Linked DNA regions of Homo sapiens: region 2 is linked to region 1. Evidence: promoter capture Hi-C in 16 types of primary human blood cells and fetal thymus (Javierre and others, 2016). All regions are on one chromosome and are shown on one strand. The core of a region is centred on a gene start or on the middle of the fragment in contact, and the rest is flanking DNA. Distances in the headings are between cores, read along the strand shown.

Evidence for each region. The method cuts DNA at HindIII sites, captures the fragments that hold promoters and counts their contacts. A CHiCAGO score of 5 or more calls a contact.
Region 2: a contact is called between a fragment that was not itself captured here and the fragment with the promoter of SSTR4 in region 1, in 1 of 17 cell types (neutrophils). The highest score is 7.1, in neutrophils.

The regions. Positions count from the first base shown.
Region 1 is chr20:23,032,757-23,037,382 of GRCh38, forward strand. SSTR4 (somatostatin receptor 4) reads left to right here and starts at 2,556. Exons shown (of 1, transcript NM_001052.4): 1 at 2,556-4,626. The coding sequence starts at 2,728. The coding sequence ends at 3,894. RefSeq lists an enhancer at 3,097-3,643. The HindIII fragment of the contact is 5,481 bases long and covers 2,153-4,626 here.
Region 2 is chr20:22,976,382-22,981,007 of GRCh38, forward strand. No RefSeq gene overlaps it. Among named protein-coding and RNA genes, the nearest start is that of SSTR4, 57 kb to the right of the region's middle. The HindIII fragment of the contact is 3,025 bases long and covers 1,127-4,151 here.

The DNA.
Region 1 (4,626 bases), core at 1,306-3,805:
AAACAGACTTTGTTTTCCTGTGTTTTAACTCAGCGTGAAAGTTTCTCTAGGTCTCCTCTCCTGGGGGAGAAAGGTAGCGGCTGGTTTCCTGTTCCATTGCTTCTTTAGTATCCTGAGAGAGAACAGCCATGGGCACCCAGCTGCCCCAGCCTCTTCCTGTCCCAGGGCCCCGAGGCTGCCCTTCAGCGGTCTCCAGCTTCCTGCTCCTGTAAGCAGGGGCCTCTCTTTTTGGCTTTCCTGACATTTCTCCTGACCTCTTCTGCTAGCCCTCCTGAACGCACAGTAATATCTGTACATTGCAGTTGGTCCCCAGGCTGCTGCCTCTCTGTCTCTCCATCTAATGTTGCATCTGTGCACTTTAGAAGTACCCGGGAGCCTTCAAAATATTTGGATGCCTGGACACCACTCCAGATAATTCAGTCAGAGTCTCTGAAGACAGGGCCCAGGCATCCCTGTGTGAGGCCTTCAGGTAATTCCAGCATACAGCCTGTATTGGAAAGCTCTGTATTGAGGATGAGGCCCTCATGCTGCAGAGGGGGCCTAGAGCACAGGGAAGTAAGTTCCTGGAAGCACTAGCTGTTTATCACATAGGGCTAATAACCAATGGGGACAGTCGTGCATGCTTCTCTTCTTACATGCTAGCTTACTATGCTTGGAGGCATACACATGTGTATGGGGAGAGGAGGGCAGAATCGGGGAGCATTAGGAGAAAAACCTAAAGTAGGCACAGGAAAGATTCCAGGGGCTCACACATGAGGCAGGACAAGAAGAAATACTTTCTCAGGAAAGGGAAGGGGCCGAGTGTTCAATGGGCAGAGAGGACAGCAGAAGAGAGGAGACCAGGAAGACAAGATAGCCCCCAGCACTTCCACACTAAGCCCTGGAAAGGCTATCTGCAGAGGAGCCACCTAAGGGTCTTCCCAAGACCAGGGTTAAAGGGAAAAGCCCCTAAACTCCTCTTCCCTCCCAAATCTGAGGTTGCTCTTGTTCCCTTCCACCAAAGGATGGCACCAAGTAGAATGACAAAGGTGCCATCTCCTTCCTCTTTCTCAGGGAAGGGTCTCTCTCTTAAGGACAAAGATGTGAAAGGTCTCTCTCTTAGGGACAAAAAGGAAAGGACAGACCAACCTACAGAGTGGAGGAGTGCTAGACCAAATCCTCCCAATACATCTATTTGAGTAGCAGAGACTGGAGACAGTGGTTGAGGTCAACTATGGGGCTGCACTGGTGCTGATCATGCCCGTGCTCCCATCCCACACCTGGATAAACAGCAGTGGGCAGCTTCCCCCACCCCCCAGTCTTAGAAAGGCCTCCTCCAGTTGCAACAGGACTCCCTCCTCCCCATCGCTGTCCCAGCCACCCAGCGGAAAGCTGAGACCCCACCCCCCAGGTGGCCAATTTTAGACCCACTAAAGGCCTTTCTGGGCTGTACTGGGGGCTAAAGGGGGCCACCATCCCACAGAGAAGGGGCCAAAGACAGCCAGGATCCTAAAAGTCAGAGCTACTTTAAGAATAACTTTCCCAGGCCAATCCCCAGTTCAGGAACGTTCCTGTGCCCTGTGCCAGCTAGAGGGACTAGGGCTGGAGCCGGCGGCTGCTCCTGGGTGTCCAGTCCAGGAGCCAGTGAACTCACTATCTCTGGAGTTTAGCAGAAGAAGGGTAATTCCAGGCCGGAACCCCTTTCTTTCCCGACCTCTCGACCACAGTCCTCCCCAGGCACATTTTAGTGGCCAGGGATGGAGACCCGCGGATAATGACTGAACCAGGTCACAGGGTGAAGGTTCTGAGATGTCCGGCTCCCGTAGCTTCTGCCAGTTCCCGAGGGAGCTAGCACAGGCTTGGCCTTCTTTGGTGGCATCTCTGCCTCCACCTGTCCGTCTCCATTCCTTGTGCCCATAGCACCTCAGCTGCTCGGACACAGAAGTTAAAAGGTCCGGCATCTGCACTTGTCCAGAGTGGGTTGGGGAGCAGAGAAAGGAGTGGTGAGCTGTGGGGAAAACTGGACATCCTGACAGACCTGAAATTCACCAAGCCGCCAGTGGAAGCCTCAGGTTCCGCCTCTATAAAAGGGACTCAGCCATGTGCAAGGATGGGTCGTCGCGAGGATTAAAGGGCAGGGTGAGGGGATGTCAAGTGCAAGGCAAGTGGTCCAAGCTTCCAGGTGGTCCCTGACCAGTTCCGGGCACATCTTTACCCAAAGGGAGGACTCCGGGACCCCCAGCCCCGCCGCCGCAGACCCCCTGTAGCAAAGCAGGGAACTGGACCTCAAAGGGCTGCTGGGGAAGACGGGATCTGAATAGAGGTCTGAAGGAAAGAAGCCAGGCGGGGGACCCCGGGAGGGCCGGACGGGGCTGGGGGTGCTGTTGACACTGGAGCCGGACTGGAGACCTGGGAACCTGGGGCAGAGTCGGCAGCGGGGAGGGGGCGACCGAGGTGGGAAAACGGGGCGGGGCCGGAGACGACTCCAGGGCTGGGTGAGGCGCTGACCCCCAGGAGCTGGGGTGCCGAGGGGCGCGGGCCACAGCGGTGCGAGCCAGTCGGGCGCCCGCGCGGTGGGGCGCGCGGCGCGGGGATTGGCGGGCGCTCCCCGGTGCCCGCAGCTCTTCAGCGTAGCCGGGAAGAGCCGCGCGTCTGCGCGCCAGCCCCCGCCCTGGGCCCGCCGCCCGAGCTCTCTGGCGCAGCGCTAGCTCCGCCGCGCTCAGCTGCCCTGCGCCGGCACCCCTGGTCATGAGCGCCCCCTCGACGCTGCCCCCCGGGGGCGAGGAAGGGCTGGGGACGGCCTGGCCCTCTGCAGCCAATGCCAGTAGCGCTCCGGCGGAGGCGGAGGAGGCGGTGGCGGGGCCCGGGGACGCGCGGGCGGCGGGCATGGTCGCTATCCAGTGCATCTACGCGCTGGTGTGCCTGGTGGGGCTGGTGGGCAACGCCCTGGTCATCTTCGTGATCCTTCGCTACGCCAAGATGAAGACGGCTACCAACATCTACCTGCTCAACCTGGCCGTAGCCGACGAGCTCTTCATGCTGAGCGTGCCCTTCGTGGCCTCGTCGGCCGCCCTGCGCCACTGGCCCTTCGGCTCCGTGCTGTGCCGCGCGGTGCTCAGCGTCGACGGCCTCAACATGTTCACCAGCGTCTTCTGTCTCACCGTGCTCAGCGTGGACCGCTACGTGGCCGTGGTGCACCCTCTGCGCGCGGCGACCTACCGGCGGCCCAGCGTGGCCAAGCTCATCAACCTGGGCGTGTGGCTGGCATCCCTGTTGGTCACTCTCCCCATCGCCATCTTCGCAGACACCAGACCGGCTCGCGGCGGCCAGGCCGTGGCCTGCAACCTGCAGTGGCCACACCCGGCCTGGTCGGCAGTCTTCGTGGTCTACACTTTCCTGCTGGGCTTCCTGCTGCCCGTGCTGGCCATTGGCCTGTGCTACCTGCTCATCGTGGGCAAGATGCGCGCCGTGGCCCTGCGCGCTGGCTGGCAGCAGCGCAGGCGCTCGGAGAAGAAAATCACCAGGCTGGTGCTGATGGTCGTGGTCGTCTTTGTGCTCTGCTGGATGCCTTTCTACGTGGTGCAGCTGCTGAACCTCTTCGTGACCAGCCTTGATGCCACCGTCAACCACGTGTCCCTTATCCTTAGCTATGCCAACAGCTGCGCCAACCCCATTCTCTATGGCTTCCTCTCCGACAACTTCCGCCGATTCTTCCAGCGGGTTCTCTGCCTGCGCTGCTGCCTCCTGGAAGGTGCTGGAGGTGCTGAGGAGGAGCCCCTGGACTACTATGCCACTGCTCTCAAGAGCAAAGGTGGGGCAGGGTGCATGTGCCCCCCACTCCCCTGCCAGCAGGAAGCCCTGCAACCAGAACCCGGCCGCAAGCGCATCCCCCTCACCAGGACCACCACCTTCTGAGGAGCCCTTCCCCTACCCACCCTGCGTGGCCACCTCCCAAGGGGTGGGCACCATTCCTACAGCCCCGAAGACTGCATCTCCTGAATGCTCACCTAAGCTCCACCACCTGTTCCTTCCAGCAGCCCATGTACCTGCCGGAGAGTGTCAGAACTCTTCTGCTGCTCTCCTCTCCCCTGCACTCTGGCTTTCAAAAGGATGCTTCCATATGGGTAGGACTCCTCTGGAAACTGGGCTAGGATATTAATCATTCCTGAACCTCTGGCTGTTCTTCAAGGGCTGGGAAGCAGGAGGTGGTGAGAAATGAATGGTCCCTGTGTGTGACTCCTTACAGCCACTGCTTGGGAGAGGACTCAAGAAGGTGGAGGGAGGTAGCACCCTTCCTCTCTGCAGACGCTCTGCCTTGTGGTGGGAGCACAGCTTGTACAGGAGAGAGGAGGAAGGAAGATGCCCCCAGGCACCTGCCCTTTATGTCTCTTCCTGAGCTCTTGTTAAGTGAGACTTATGTTAACAGCCTGGGGCACTTACTTCCCTCCCCACTCACCCCCGGCCTGGGAATAACATCTGCTTGCTGTCACAGGTGTCTCCCTGAGTTGCCCTGAGCTGGGAGCAGTCTTCCTGTGAGTAGAAAAGGTTTGGAGAGACATGACATGGGGTTTATTGCAAGGCATAAAACCAGGTCAGTAATAACAAAGCAGATGATAAAAACTTCATCTAGCTCCTATGATGTAATTT
Region 2 (4,626 bases), core at 1,389-3,888, 56 kb before region 1:
AAAGCTTTAGAGTGCAGAACCTATTCAAGGACTACAGGAACTGGGAGGAGAGTGAGCAGGTGGGTGGGGAGCTACTTGTACCAATACCCTATCCATATTGGTTTCGTCTGGGTTTTCCCATAGGCCAGAGTGCCCAAACCTGCCCTCACCTGACATGCTGACATGAGGATGGCCTTGTCACATGTACTGCCATCTATGACAGAATTTGGTCTTGGATATTCTGTTCCAGAACCCAGAGGTGGTGGTAGGCAGAGGAACAAAGTCGACTGAGCCTCTGGGGGAACAAGAGGAAACAAAGGAAATATTTAACAAATTAAGAGACAATCGGAAGTCAATGAGAGGAGGCAAACTATCAATGGTCAGATGAGCAGGGAGTCCCCAGCATGGGTGAGCCCACCCTCAGTGGGGAAGGGAACTTGCCTGTGGTGTTAGCTTCTATGATGGAAGTCCATGAAGAAGAAGTTCTACAAATGGGGAAATTGAGACAACACAAGCAAACTAAGAAACTTGGGACACATAGTAGAAATCTAGACGGTTCTTTTAATGGACAGACTATTCTTTAAAGGAGGTCCTAAAACTGTAGAGATCACAGTCCCCGCTAGGTTCACCACCCCACCTGGCAGGAAATGTTGTGAGAAGGGGTTTAAGTGTAAAGTAAACTTGTAACAAGAGTGGCTGGCGCCAGTCTAAGCAAGAGGTACCACAAGGAATTTGTGCACATCCAGGAATGTGGAGTTCCACAACTCTCAACTAGCTTGTGGGAAAGCATAGGGCTGCTTTTCTGTTGACTAAAGCTATGAAAGAACTGAAAAGTGTGGCTTGCCAGGAAAACACTTGCTGTCCCCAAGGACACTAGCGCTGAGGACATGAGAGGAAGCAACACCCTTGGATCTGCCATCACTTGTCTAAGAATGGCAATCATCCAGTAACAGATCAGCCTTGGCTTTCAGGCCAACAAATTTCAGGCACTTGTAATAAGCTGTGCAACCATCGCCACTATTTTCTTACCCAATTCCTTTTCAGCTCCAGCAGGTCCTGCCAGTCACCTTGTACGACTTACCCCACTGGCTTTTTACATTTCAGAATTAAGAAATATCATACAGCAAACAAAGGGTTGAGTTAAAAAAGCTTGTTTGCACATTGTTTTAGGAATTCAGAACACATTTCCCATAGAAACAATGCAGACAAGCCACAAAGGCAGATGGTTCCCTTCCTTCTGCCCCCACCCAAAAGTTTAGCCTGTGATGTTCTGAAAGCACAGTATTATTCCCCATTAAATTGTTCCTGAAATAATGCCTTTTGAGTCATAATTCAGAATGCCTAACTGAATTTTATGGTGGCTTTAAATGTGGCCCCAAAGTTCTTTGCACTCTATGTGCTCTCCCCTTGATCCTGGCTCTGATGACTTGACCAAAAGAATAAGGCAGAAAGGATGCTATGCCAGTTAATTTTGTGATTATAGAATTACTATGATACCAAAACCAGATAGTACTAAAAAACCCCAAAGACCACTATCCCTAAAAAATACGGATGCAATAATCCATACAAAATATTAGTAAATAGAATTCAGCAATACATAACTATATACCATGATCAAGTGAGATTTTTTTTCCCCAGGAGTTCAAGGCTGCTTTAATATGTAAAAATGAATATAATCCACCATGTTAACGGACTAAATAAAAATCACATGGTCATATCAAGGGGGAAGGGAAGCATTTGACAAAATTCAACACCCATTATGATGAAACTCTCAGAAAAATAGGAATAGAAGAAAACTCTTCCAACTTGATGAGCATCCACAAAAAGTCCAGGCTCCCTCCACGGTCTTCCTGGTAACATGGGAGTGAGGGACTTTCACAGGCTGGCAGGGATGGAAGTCTTGGCTCCCTACTCAGTCTTCTCTGACGGTGACCCATTCATTGTGGGGGCTGGACTCCTCATTAGCCTGGTAGTCTAGGCTCCCCATCTGGCCTTGGTGAGTGGAGATGGGGCTGCCGATTTTCTGTGGTGTTTAGATGGAGTAAAGCAGATGTTGCTAACAGGCTTTCTTTTTTAAATTTGTATAAACTTAAGAGATATAAGTATAATTTTGTTACATCAATATATTGTATAGTTGTGAAGTCTGGGCTTTTAGGGCACCCATCACCCAAATAATGTGTACTCTACCCATTAAGTAATTTTTCATCACCCACCTGTCTCCTATTCCCTACCCTCCCGAGTCTCCAATGTCCATCATTTCACAATTTGTCCTAGTTTATACACTATTTAGCTCCCACTTATAAATGAAAACGTGGTGTTTGATTTTCTGTTTCTGCGTTATTTCACTTAAGATAACGGCCTCCAGTTCCATCCATGTTACTTCAAAAGACATGACTTCATTTTTTTTGACTGAGTAGTATTCCATTGTGTATATGTATCACATTGTCTTTATCCAATCATCTGCTGATGAACACTTAAACTGATTCCATATTACTGTTATTGCGAATAGTGCCGTGATAACATATGAGTGCAGGTATCATTTTTATATAATGATTTCTTTTCCTCTGGGTAGATACACAGTAGTGGCGTTGCCACTCCAAAGGGTAATTCTATTTTTAGTTCTTTGCCATATCTCCACGCTGTTCTCCAAAGAGGTTATACAATTTACATTCTCACTGGCAGTGTGCCTGAAGGTTTTATGTCTTGCCAAGTCTTAGTTCTTTGGCCAGAGAGAGCAGGCTTTTGGGGGGCCTTTCTTGCCTGTGCCTGTTGGTATTTCTGGGTGGCTCACTTCTTTAGCTCTGACTCTGGAATATGAATCAAAAAGAGATTCCTGGGACTTACCGCTAGGTCATCCGTTGGGTCCTGGGGTCCCTGGCCCATCTGCCTCTTTCTCTTCACCTTTCAGAGGCTTATGTTTGCTTTGCACACAATGTCCCAAATTTTAGTTACTTTTAGCAGGATGGATAGGGATGGATAGATAGATAGTCCATCTATTCTATCTTCCTGGAAGCAGACACCTGATATTTTTGGATATCTGGATTCTGCCTCTACTTTATTATTTGACTGGATGTGGAATTCTAGGCTGTACTTTAGAATTTGAAGGTTTTGCTGCACTAACTTCTTCCCTTCCAGCATTGCCTTCTGATTTTTTTTTTAATGGGATCTTCTCTCCTTTCTGCTCTCTCTGTGTCACCCTCAACCTTCAGGACGTTTTTTTTTTCTCTCTAGAACCCCAAAATGTCATGAAGGTGTCCTTGGTATGTATGTTTCTCCTGTCTTTTGGGGGGGTACTCTTACGGCTTCTTTAACTTGGAGACACATGCCTCAGGAGTATAGAATTGTTCCACTGCTTATTTGACAGGTTCCTTTCCTTTATGCTTTTCAGCCTTCCTGGAACTCTGAAGAGCCAGTTGCTGCATCTTCTGGAACAGAAGATGCCTCTAGGTTTCTTTTCTCTATTTTTCTGCTTCTTTTTTGTCTATTTTACTTCCCAAAAGAGTCCTTTAATCTTCTAATATTTCTCTACAATATTGATATGGTCATAATGTATATGTCCCTCACCCCAAATTCCTGTGTCGAAATTCTCACTTTTAAGATTATGATATTACAAGGCAAAGTCTTTGGAGGGTGATTTCATGAATGATATTAGGGCCCTTAATTTAAAAACCCAAGGGAGAGGCCAGGCACAGTGGCTCATGCCTGTAATCCAAGCAGTTTGGGAGGCTGAGGTGGGCGGATCAAGAAGTCAGGAGATCGAGACCATCCTGGTTAACACGGTGAAACCCTGTCTCTACTAAAAATACAAAAATTGGCCAGGCATGGTGGCATGCACTTGTAGTCCCAGCTACTCGGGAGGCTGAGGCAGGAGAATCATTTGAACTCAGGAGGCGGAGGTTGCAGTGAGCCGAGATTGCACCACTGCACTCCAGCCTGGGCAACAGAGGGAGACTCCGTCTACAAAAAACAACAAACAAACAAACAAACAAAAAAACCAAGGACACAGCAAGAAGATGCTGCCTGTGAACCAGACAGAGAGTCCTCACCAGGCACCAAATCTGCTGATGCCTTGATCTTGGATTTCCCAGCCTCCAGAGCTGTGAGAAACAAATTTCTGTTTTCTAAAAGCCACCCGGTTTCTGACATTTTGTTACAGCAGCTAGAACAAACTAAGCTTTTGGCTATCACATTTTTCATTTCTGGGTCTTCCTTCATCTTATCTGATTTTTTCCGTTTTGCACAGTATCACATGTTTAAAACGGAATAACTTGCCTTGGGTCATCTTTTTTCCTGTTTGCTACCTTGTTTTCTCTGGGCTCCTTTTAAAAACATTCTCTTTACTATATTGTGTGCCTCCTCCAGTTTCCTTGTGTTTGTTTGTTTGGGGTTTGTGTGGTTACCTCTTTTTGGTCTACCTTTCGTGTTGAAGGATTTCATCTACCTGGTCATCCTCAGCCATCTGTTAACAGTGGATGGGGAGGTACAGGGAAGCTGGCTGGAGAGTGAGCTGTGTATCTTGTACCTGTGCTTCTAGATTCCATCCTCTTCTGCTCTGCTCTGCCCTGGAGGCTGATCTGCATGGCAGCATCACCGGAGCTTCTTTGCACTCTGGACTCCAGTGGATTCAGCCAATGAGGGGCACTGGCA